Regions from separate parts of the Homo sapiens genome. Here region 1 is linked to region 2. Evidence: promoter capture Hi-C in human tissues and cell types (Jung and others, 2019). All regions are on one chromosome and are shown on one strand. Each heading gives the region's core, a stretch centred on a gene start or on the middle of the fragment in contact. The rest is flanking DNA. Distances are from core to core; before and after follow the strand shown.

Evidence for each region. Contacts are between HindIII fragments. The study calls those that stand out against the background at their distance.
Region 1: a contact is called between a fragment that was not itself captured here and the fragment with the promoter of TIMP2 in region 2, in 4 of the 25 tissues and cell types used here (dorsolateral prefrontal cortex, hippocampus, mesenchymal stem cells and 1 more).

What each region holds. Positions count from the first base shown.
Region 1 is chr17:78,832,642-78,836,962 of GRCh38, reverse strand. USP36 (ubiquitin specific peptidase 36) reads left to right here. Exons shown (of 21, transcript NM_001385174.1): 3 at 591-852; 4 at 1,462-1,683. The coding sequence starts at 600. Among named protein-coding and RNA genes, the nearest start is that of USP36, 6.0 kb to the left of the region's middle. The HindIII fragment of the contact is 6,692 bases long and covers 1-4,321 here.
Region 2 is chr17:78,923,946-78,928,377 of GRCh38, reverse strand. TIMP2 (TIMP metallopeptidase inhibitor 2) reads left to right here and starts at 2,991. Exons shown (of 5, transcript NM_003255.5): 1 at 2,991-3,419. The coding sequence starts at 3,290. The HindIII fragment of the contact is 25,377 bases long and covers 1-4,432 here.

The DNA of each region.
Region 1 (4,321 bases), core at 1,705-4,204, 91 kb after region 2:
GACTAGCCTCATTTCACATGCTCAGTAGCCACGTGTGGCCTGTGGCCTTCATATTGAAGAGTGCAGGTCTGTACAGACATGCATGCTCATCTGACCTGCATGCTAATTCATTTATTGCGTGGGTGTGTGTGTGTGTGTCCGTTTGTGTGTGTGTGTGTGTGTGTCCGTGTGTGTATAACCAGTTTGTATGTGAGAATTAGTGTGCCCCTGTTTTGGAGCAGACATTTGGACCACGTGATGACCTTTGGAAGGAAATGGCACCAAGAATGATGTCCAGAGCCACTTGATGAGTATCTGATGAAGAGATGCACATGGCAGGGGCTGTCTGGCTGCCTCAGGGCCACTGTTGTCTGCTCACCTCTATTTGTAGTGGCATCTTATCTTTTTGTGGGGGAAATGTGAACTAATATGTCCAAGTGATTAGTGCTGGGTCTCCCTGTTTCCTTTGTGCAGCTGATCCAGGGGATCACTGATCCAGGGGAGCTTTTGTGGTGGCTAGCATCCATAATGACCAAAGAGGAGATCTTAAGAGATGTTTTTGTCCCGGGATTTCGTTATCTATGGCTCTATGTTTCTTCTTGTCCCCACAGTGATGCACCATGCCAATAGTGGATAAGTTGAAGGAGGCCCTGAAACCCGGCCGCAAGGACTCGGCTGATGATGGAGAACTGGGGAAGCTTCTTGCCTCCTCTGCCAAGAAGGTCCTTTTACAGAAAATCGAGTTCGAGCCAGCCAGCAAGAGCTTCTCCTACCAGCTGGAGGCCTTAAAGAGCAAATATGTGTTGCTCAACCCCAAAACAGAGGGAGCTAGTCGCCACAAGAGTGGAGATGACCCACCGGCCAGGAGACAGGGTACAGATGTGCAGTGTGCTGGCAGAGAGGCCCTCACTCCGGGGTGACGAAGTGGATGGACTTAAATATTGACTAATTAGTAGGAAAAACAAGAGAATGTGGTCAAAGAGTTATGAATTTTTACATGGGGTCAGTGGATTTCAGTTATAGAAGTAATGATACAGGGTTGGTAGCAAGGAAATCTGTGTGCTTGGTGGATCTGTGTACTTGGTGGGTCCTTGGACTTGCTGTCCCCCTATCCCAAGTATAATACAGTCGAAAGTCAGGCTTGGAACTAAGAAAGAGAAATGGGGTGGGCTGCATGTGGGCACAGTGTGGTGCAGAGTGCCAGGCCTGGCTCCTTCCGCCACTCAGTCTCTGAGCTGTGTCCTCCATCTATAGAGGGGCCCTTGAATTCTTTAGCCAAGCAGCCTAGGAGGTCCGTGGGATGGCTGGGTTTACTCCTGAGCTTTCCAGGAATGTCCTGTAAACCAGAACACCAGTTCTTCTCTGGTGCCATGTTCCGAGTCACTGCATGCTAAGTGTATGCTTCAGGAGTTTCTTTTTGTGGACGACCTGTGTGTGGACTTACGTCTTCCTCTTTTCTTCCCTTGTCCCTTTCTTCCTCAGGCAGTGAGCACACGTATGAGAGCTGTGGTGACGGAGTCCCAGCCCCGCAGAAAGTGCTTTTCCCCACGGAGCGACTGTCTCTGAGGTGGGAGCGGGTCTTCCGCGTGGGCGCAGGACTCCACAACCTTGGCAACACCTGCTTTCTCAATGCCACCATCCAGTGCTTGACCTACACACCACCTCTAGCCAACTACCTGCTCTCCAAGGAGCATGCTCGCAGCTGTGAGTGTGGGTTTGCAGCAGTGGGGTGGCTGTGGGTCCTCTGGATTAGATAAGCCCATGCACTTGTGGCACTGCTGCTCTCAGTCTGGGTCAAATTTAGGAGGGTAGTTCATAATGTATAGTAACTGATGAAACCTAAATTTGAATCATGCCTGCTGCAGAATGGGCCATGAAGGTGAATCGGTCAGGTGGGGCTGTGTTCGCCAAGCTTTTCTGTAAATAATTACCCAGACAGAAACGTTTTCAAAAGATACTTCCAAAATATATATATATATATATATACAAATATTATTTTTTTAGAGACAGTATCTTGCTCTGACACCCAGGCTGGAATGCAGTGGCTCCATCACAACTCGTTGTAGTCTTGAACTCCTGGGCTCACATGATCCTCCCATCTCAGCCTCCCAAAGTGCTGGGATTATAAGTGTGAGCCACCATGCCTAGCCCAATTGTTTTATGCATCTGTTGTTGTATCAGCATATCTTATGTGTATTATAAAACGTGCAGCCTGGACAACACAGCAAGATCCCATCTCTACAAAAACAAATCAAGGCCGGGCACGGTGGCTCACACCTGTGGGAGGCAGAGGTGGGCAGATCACTTGAGGTCAGGAGTTGGAGACCAGCCTGGCCAACATGGCGAAACCCGGTTTCTACTAAAAATATAAAAATTAGGCGTGATGGGGTGCACCTGTAATCCCAGCTGCTCGGGAGGCTGAAGCAGGAGAATTGCTTGAACCCAGAAGGTGGAGGTTGCAGTGAGCTGACCAAGATCATGCCGCTGCACTCCAGCCTGGGTGACAGAGCAAGACTCCATCTCACACACACAAAAAACAAATCGAAACAATTAGCTGGATGTGGTGGTGTGCTCTATTTGATTAAAATAGAGGTGAAATAAGATATAACTTACCAAAACTGAAAGAAATAGAAAGTGAAGAGTCTTTTAACTATTAAAGAAATTAAAGCATTGGTTAAAAATCTTCCCATAAAAAACCCCAAGCAGAGACAATGTTATTTCTGTGTAACTTTTTTTTTTTTTTGAGACGGACTCTGTTGCCTAGGCTGGAGTACGGTGGTGTGATCTCAGTTCACTGCAACCTCCGCCTCCTGGGTGCAAGCAATTCTCCTGTCTCAGCCTCCCAAATAGCTGGGACTATAGACGCACGCCACCACGCCTGGCTAATTTTTGTATTTTTAGTAGAGATGGGGTTTTACCATGTTGGTCAGGCTGGTCTTGAACTCGTGACCTCAGGTGATCCAACCGCCTTGGCCTCCTAAAGTGCTGGGATTACAGGTGTGAACCACTGTGCCCAGCCAATTTCTATGTAACTTTTAAGAAACAATTCCAATCCTTTACACGTTCTTCCAAAGAATAGAGGAGGAGAGAATCTTTCCCAGCTCATTCTATAAAGTTCCTATAACTCGGATAACAATAATAAGGAAAATGCGAGAAAGAAAATGGATAACCACAACTTCTTCACGAACATAGATATAAAAATTGTAGGAAAATACTACCAAATGACACAGTTTCTAAAAAACTGTAAGCAACTTATGTTTATCCTAGGAATGCAGGATGTTTTCATCGCAGAAAATCTCTAAGTAGAATTCTGGAGGGAGCAGAGCAGTTGAAAACACAGCTCAGGAGCCTGGCCTGTAGGGTTTGCTTCCCAGTTTGCCCCTTAGTAACTGTGAGTTTTTGAGAATGTCCCTGGTCTATGGAAGAATGAGACTGTCTTCCTTACAGAGTTGCGTGAGGCTCCGATAAATTCTGAGTGAGTCAAGTGCCTGGAGTAGCAGCCCGCAAAGAGGGAGTGCTATAGAAGTGACTGCTACTGGCTGGGCACGGTGGCTCACACCTGTAATCCCAGCTACTTGGGAGGCTGAGGCAGGAGAATCACTTGAACCTGGGAGGCAGAGGTTGCATTGAGCTGAGATCACACCACTGCACTTTAGCCTGGGCAACAGAACAAGATTCCGTCTCAAAAAAACATAAAAAAAAGAACACAAGATGGCCATGCAGTGGGAAGTGTTTGTAAACATCTTGCTAATTGCGATGGCTTCATAGCAGCAAAGGTTAATTATCAAGGCATAGTTGTTGAGATGAAGCAGCACATTGTTTGGGGGCGTTTTTTGGAGATGGAGTCTCGTTCTGTCGCCCAGGCTGGAGTGCAGTGGTGCAATCTCGGCTCACTGCAACCCCCGCCTCCTGTGTTCAAGAGAGTCTCCTGCCTCAGCCTCCCAAGTAGCTGGGACTGCAGGTGCCCGCCACCACGCCTGGCTAATTTTGTATTTTTAGTAGAGACGAAGTTTCACCATGTTGACCAGGCTGGTCTTGAACTCTCGACCTCAGGTGATCTGCCTGCCTCTGCCTCCGAAAGTGCTGAGATTACAGGCATGAGCCACCGTGCCCTGCAGAAGCACATTGTTGAGATGGCTAATTGTAGCCCCTATTTCCAGTGGTGACCTTGGTAATTTTGAGGTGGTTCTGGGTGGACTTTCAGTAAGATTTGACTAGATGGCTGTTGTTTTCGTCTCATGGTTTTGGCAGTAAGACTCTGCTATCCCAGGCCTGTCAGGGCTCTTCCACTGTAGAGCTGCCTTCCATTCTTGGTTTCTCTGCAGGATCTTTTTGAGCCAGT
Region 2 (4,432 bases), core at 1,742-4,241:
GCCCCTGCTCCTGGCCTCCTGCCTCAGCCCTCCTTCCTCTCACTCCTCGCCACACCATGGGCTCCACCAGGTCCAGCATCGTCCAACCTTGGGGCCTTGCGTGTTTCCACCTGCTGTTCCAGGGATGTTCCTCTGTTCTGTAGACGCTGAATGTCTCACTCTTAGGACGGTGTCCAGGCTACAGCAGATACTCAAATGAGTATTTGTTGATGGATGGAGGGAGGAGGGAGAGAGAGAGAACCAAGAGAAAAGGGAGGAAAAGAAAGCTGGAAACTTCTGGTTTAGAGACCTGTTTGGAGGAGATAATGGTAGAGGGAACAGAAAAGTAGAGTACTCTCTGGTGGGGGAATTGAGGGGAGAGATTTTTTTTTTTTTTTTTGAGACAGGGTCTCACTCTGTCACCAAGGCTGGAGTGCAGTGGTGTGATCTCGGCTCACTGCAGACTCAACTTCCCCAGGCTCAAGCGATCCTCCCACCGCAGCTTCCCTGTAGCTGGGACTACAAGTGTGAGCCATCACGCCCAGCTAATTTTTTTTTTGTAGAGATGGGGTCTCAGTATGTTCCTCAGGCTGGTCTCAAACTCCTGGCCTCAAGTGATCCTCCCACCTTAGTTTCCCAAAGTGTTGGGATTACAAGCGTGAGCCACTGCACCTGGCAAGATTTCTGCTTCACTTTTCCTGGGAGCAATTCCAGCCTGTTTGTGTGCTGGTGGGGATGACTTCGGGGAGGGCAGTCCAGGATACAGGTGCGAGGCCTTGGGTTGGAAGTTCCAGTCTCACGCCCCCCAACCCTGGAGCCCAGGCCCCCCTTTCCTCCCAGGTACATCCCACATTGGCCCCACCCCCTTGGCTGTCAGCACCACAACTGCTCTAAGGTATTTATCACCCTAACATGTACCTGATCACTTATATGTAGAGCTTGTCTAAAAGACCGAGAGCCCCTATGCTACCTGTTTCTATCATGAACTGACAAATTGAAACACAAGTTCAACAGCATTTTGTTCCCCCTGTAACCAAAAAGAAGGAAAGAAAACGATGAAATGGCTGAAGGCAGCCAGCACATAACAATTTTCTGAATTAACTGTACTTTTAAACGTTAGCTTCAAACATCATTTTGTGAACGACCCAACTCTATTTCACGCTAACAAAAACCAAAAAAGTGACTTTGGATTTGTCAGGGTGCTAAAAATAACGGCATTGCTTATTTAACTTTTCTCAGAACTGTCTGTTACAAAACATACACAAACAGAAAGAAGCTGTTTTTCCATTCTTTCACTATTTTCCAAAGTTTCATACCTCAAGTCAGCACCGCACAATTTAGTGGGCAATTCTTTTTAAAAAAAAAAAAAAAAAAAACAAAAAAAAACAAGAGTCTTTCTCTGTCGCCCAGGCTGGAGTGCAGTGGCGCAATCTCGGCTCACTGCAACCTCCGCCTCTCGGGTTCAAGCGATTCTCCTGCCTCAGCCTCCTGAGTAGCTGGGACTACAGGCGCGCGCCACCACGCCCGGCTAATTTCTTGTGTTTTTAATAGAGACGGGGTTTCACCGTGTTAGCCGCCAGGCTGGTCTCGAACTCCTGACCTCGTGATTCGCCCACCTCAGCCTCCCAAAGTGCTGGGATTACAGGCATGAGCCACTGCACCCGGGCTTTTTTTTTTTTTTTTTTTCTTTTGAGATGGAGTCTCGCTCTGTCCCCCAGGCTGGAGTGCAGTGGCATGATCTCGGCTCACTGCAAGCTCCGCCTCCTGGGTTCATGCCATTCTCCTGCCTCAGCCTCCCGAGTAGCTGGGACTACAGGCGCCCACCACCAAGCCCGGCTAATTTTTTGTATTTTTAGTAGAGACGGGGTTTCACTGTCTCTACTAAATGCTAGCCAGGCTGGTCTCAAACTCCTGGCCTCAAGTGATCCTCCTGTCTCGGCCTCCCAAAGTGCTGGGATTACAGGCGCAAGCCACCGTGCCCGCCCTGATTCTTCCTGTGTCATTTTCCTGGGCTTCCCTCTCCCTAGCTGGACTGCAAACACTCTGGAATGCTGACCTGAGGGCTGGAGTGCTGACCTGAGTGCAGCAGTGTCCATGGAGCCCCACGGGGCACACACCAAATGTACAGGGTGGGTGCCCACAGCCGGGCACAGGCAGGTTCACAGCCAGGAAGCCCGCCTCACCACCCTACACATGTTCATCCCTTCATATGCCTGGGTCTTTCCTGGAACACAAAACTGTTTTGGGAAAAGTCCTTCGGCTCCCACATTTGTGGACTAAGAGAGGAAACTGTGAGCGGAACCCAGCCAATGCCTCTGCTGCGATCCTACTGGCTCCTGGGCGCCTGGGCCCACCCCCGTCTCTTGTTGGCTGGTCAAAAATATGGCCAGTTTATATAAAATCCTGTTTTGTTCACAGTAACCACACCCCCCACCCCCCAACTAAACTGGCCAGGCGCACTTAAAATTCTAAGGCCTCCATTTGAAAAAGGGATCCTGTCAGTTTCTCAATAGGCCACCCGCCCACAGAAACGGGGAGGTGGCGACAGGGAACGGCCCCTGCTCCAAAGGACACCCCTTGGCTCGCCCCGAGGCTGGGCTCGAAGGGACCCCGGGGTGGCGGGGGACGGAGCAGCGTAGCCCTCCAGAGTCGAGCTGAAGGGGAAAGGGTAGCGGGTGGGTCGCCTGGTGTCCTGGAAGAACGGGGCGCGAGTCCCCCGCGCTGAGTCAGGGACCCCGGGCGCAGAAGGCCACGCAGCGGGGACCGGGGTCGGGGGGCTGGGGGCGTCCGGGGACCCCCGCGCGGGTGCGGGTCGCGGGCGCCAGGTGGTGCGGGAAGCCCCCGACGTGCCAGGCCGGGCACAACAAAAGCGCGGGCTGGGGGGAGGCGCGGGCGGAGGGGGAGGAGGGGGCTGCTGGGAGCGCCCAGAGCCTGCATTGGCCGCCAGCCACCGGGAGGAGGAGCAGAAAATCCTCCGAGCGCAATAAAACTGCGGCCCGGCCCAAGCCCGCAGCAAACACATCCGTAGAAGGCAGCGCGGCCGCCGAGAACCGCAGCGCCGCTCGCCCGCCGCCCCCCACCCCGCCGCCCCGCCCGGCGAATTGCGCCCCGCGCCCCTCCCCTCGCGCCCCCGAGACAAAGAGGAGAGAAAGTTTGCGCGGCCGAGCGGGGCAGGTGAGGAGGGTGAGCCGCGCGGGAGGGGCCCGCCTCGGCCCCGGCTCAGCCCCCGCCCGCGCCCCCAGCCCGCCGCCGCGAGCAGCGCCCGGACCCCCCAGCGGCGGCCCCCGCCCGCCCAGCCCCCCGGCCCGCCATGGGCGCCGCGGCCCGCACCCTGCGGCTGGCGCTCGGCCTCCTGCTGCTGGCGACGCTGCTTCGCCCGGCCGACGCCTGCAGCTGCTCCCCGGTGCACCCGCAACAGGCGTTTTGCAATGCAGATGTAGGTAAGGAGCGGCGACCCCAGCCCCCGCGCGGGGCCCCACCTCCCCCGCGACCCCGAGGGTTCGCAGACGCCCCGCCCGCCCGCCGCTGGCCGAGGGACCCCAGCGCCCGCCTCCTGGTCCCTCGGCGCCTTCTCGAATCCTGCAAGTGGACGCCCAGAGCCGACTTTCTTTCCCCCCTCCCTCCTCTCCCTTTCTTTCCCTCTCTTTGCCGAGATGCGTCTCAACCTCAAAATTCCACCGAAATTCCGCCGCAGCTCCAGCCCCAGGAAAGGGAGCCAGTTTGGCTTTTGGCAGGCGGCGCGCCCTGGGATGCCAGCGCTGGGGGCGGGGAGCGTGGGGGACACGGCGTGGGGGCGGGGGGCTGGAGGACTGGGGACCCCAGGAAGAAACTTTCGCAGATAAGGTGGGAGTTGGGCTTCTCTGGGCTTGGGGCTGGGTGGGGAAGGGCTTCTCTGCTGGGGCTTCTCCCACCAGCCCCATTTGGGGGCTCCCCGATCAAGCCAGGGTGGGATGGAAGCCCGCCCTACCCGAGGCAGGTTCCACAGGCCCAGAGGGGCAGGTGAAAAAGCCGGTGGCGTCTCCTGGCGTGGCTCCTTGCTTGCGCCCTGCCCAGGAGGCCCTGCAAACTGGCTGGGCAGGGACCGGGACCCCCGAATGTTCCGCTTTTTCGGGACGTCCACAAAAGCTGGAGACTTTGGTGACCGGACCCGGCACGTGGGACTGTGCTGCTGCTCAGATTCCCCAGCAAATACCCATGACCTCCGGACTCCTAGCCCCCAAAAGACAGGCGCCATGGAGGGAGGCAGGAGGGGCCCAGTTATTTGTTCTGATCCATGGAGGGGGAGGACCAGCAGAAATGGGAGGAACCCGCTGGCTCGAAGTTTCCACCCTGGTCCTGCACCTCAAGCCTCTGCAGCCCTGGTGCTGGTCAGCATGGTTTTCCTGGGGCAAGTCTGGCTACACGGCAGGTGGTCTCGGAGCCCCCTGCCCTCCTTCCTTCTTATGTCTGAGTC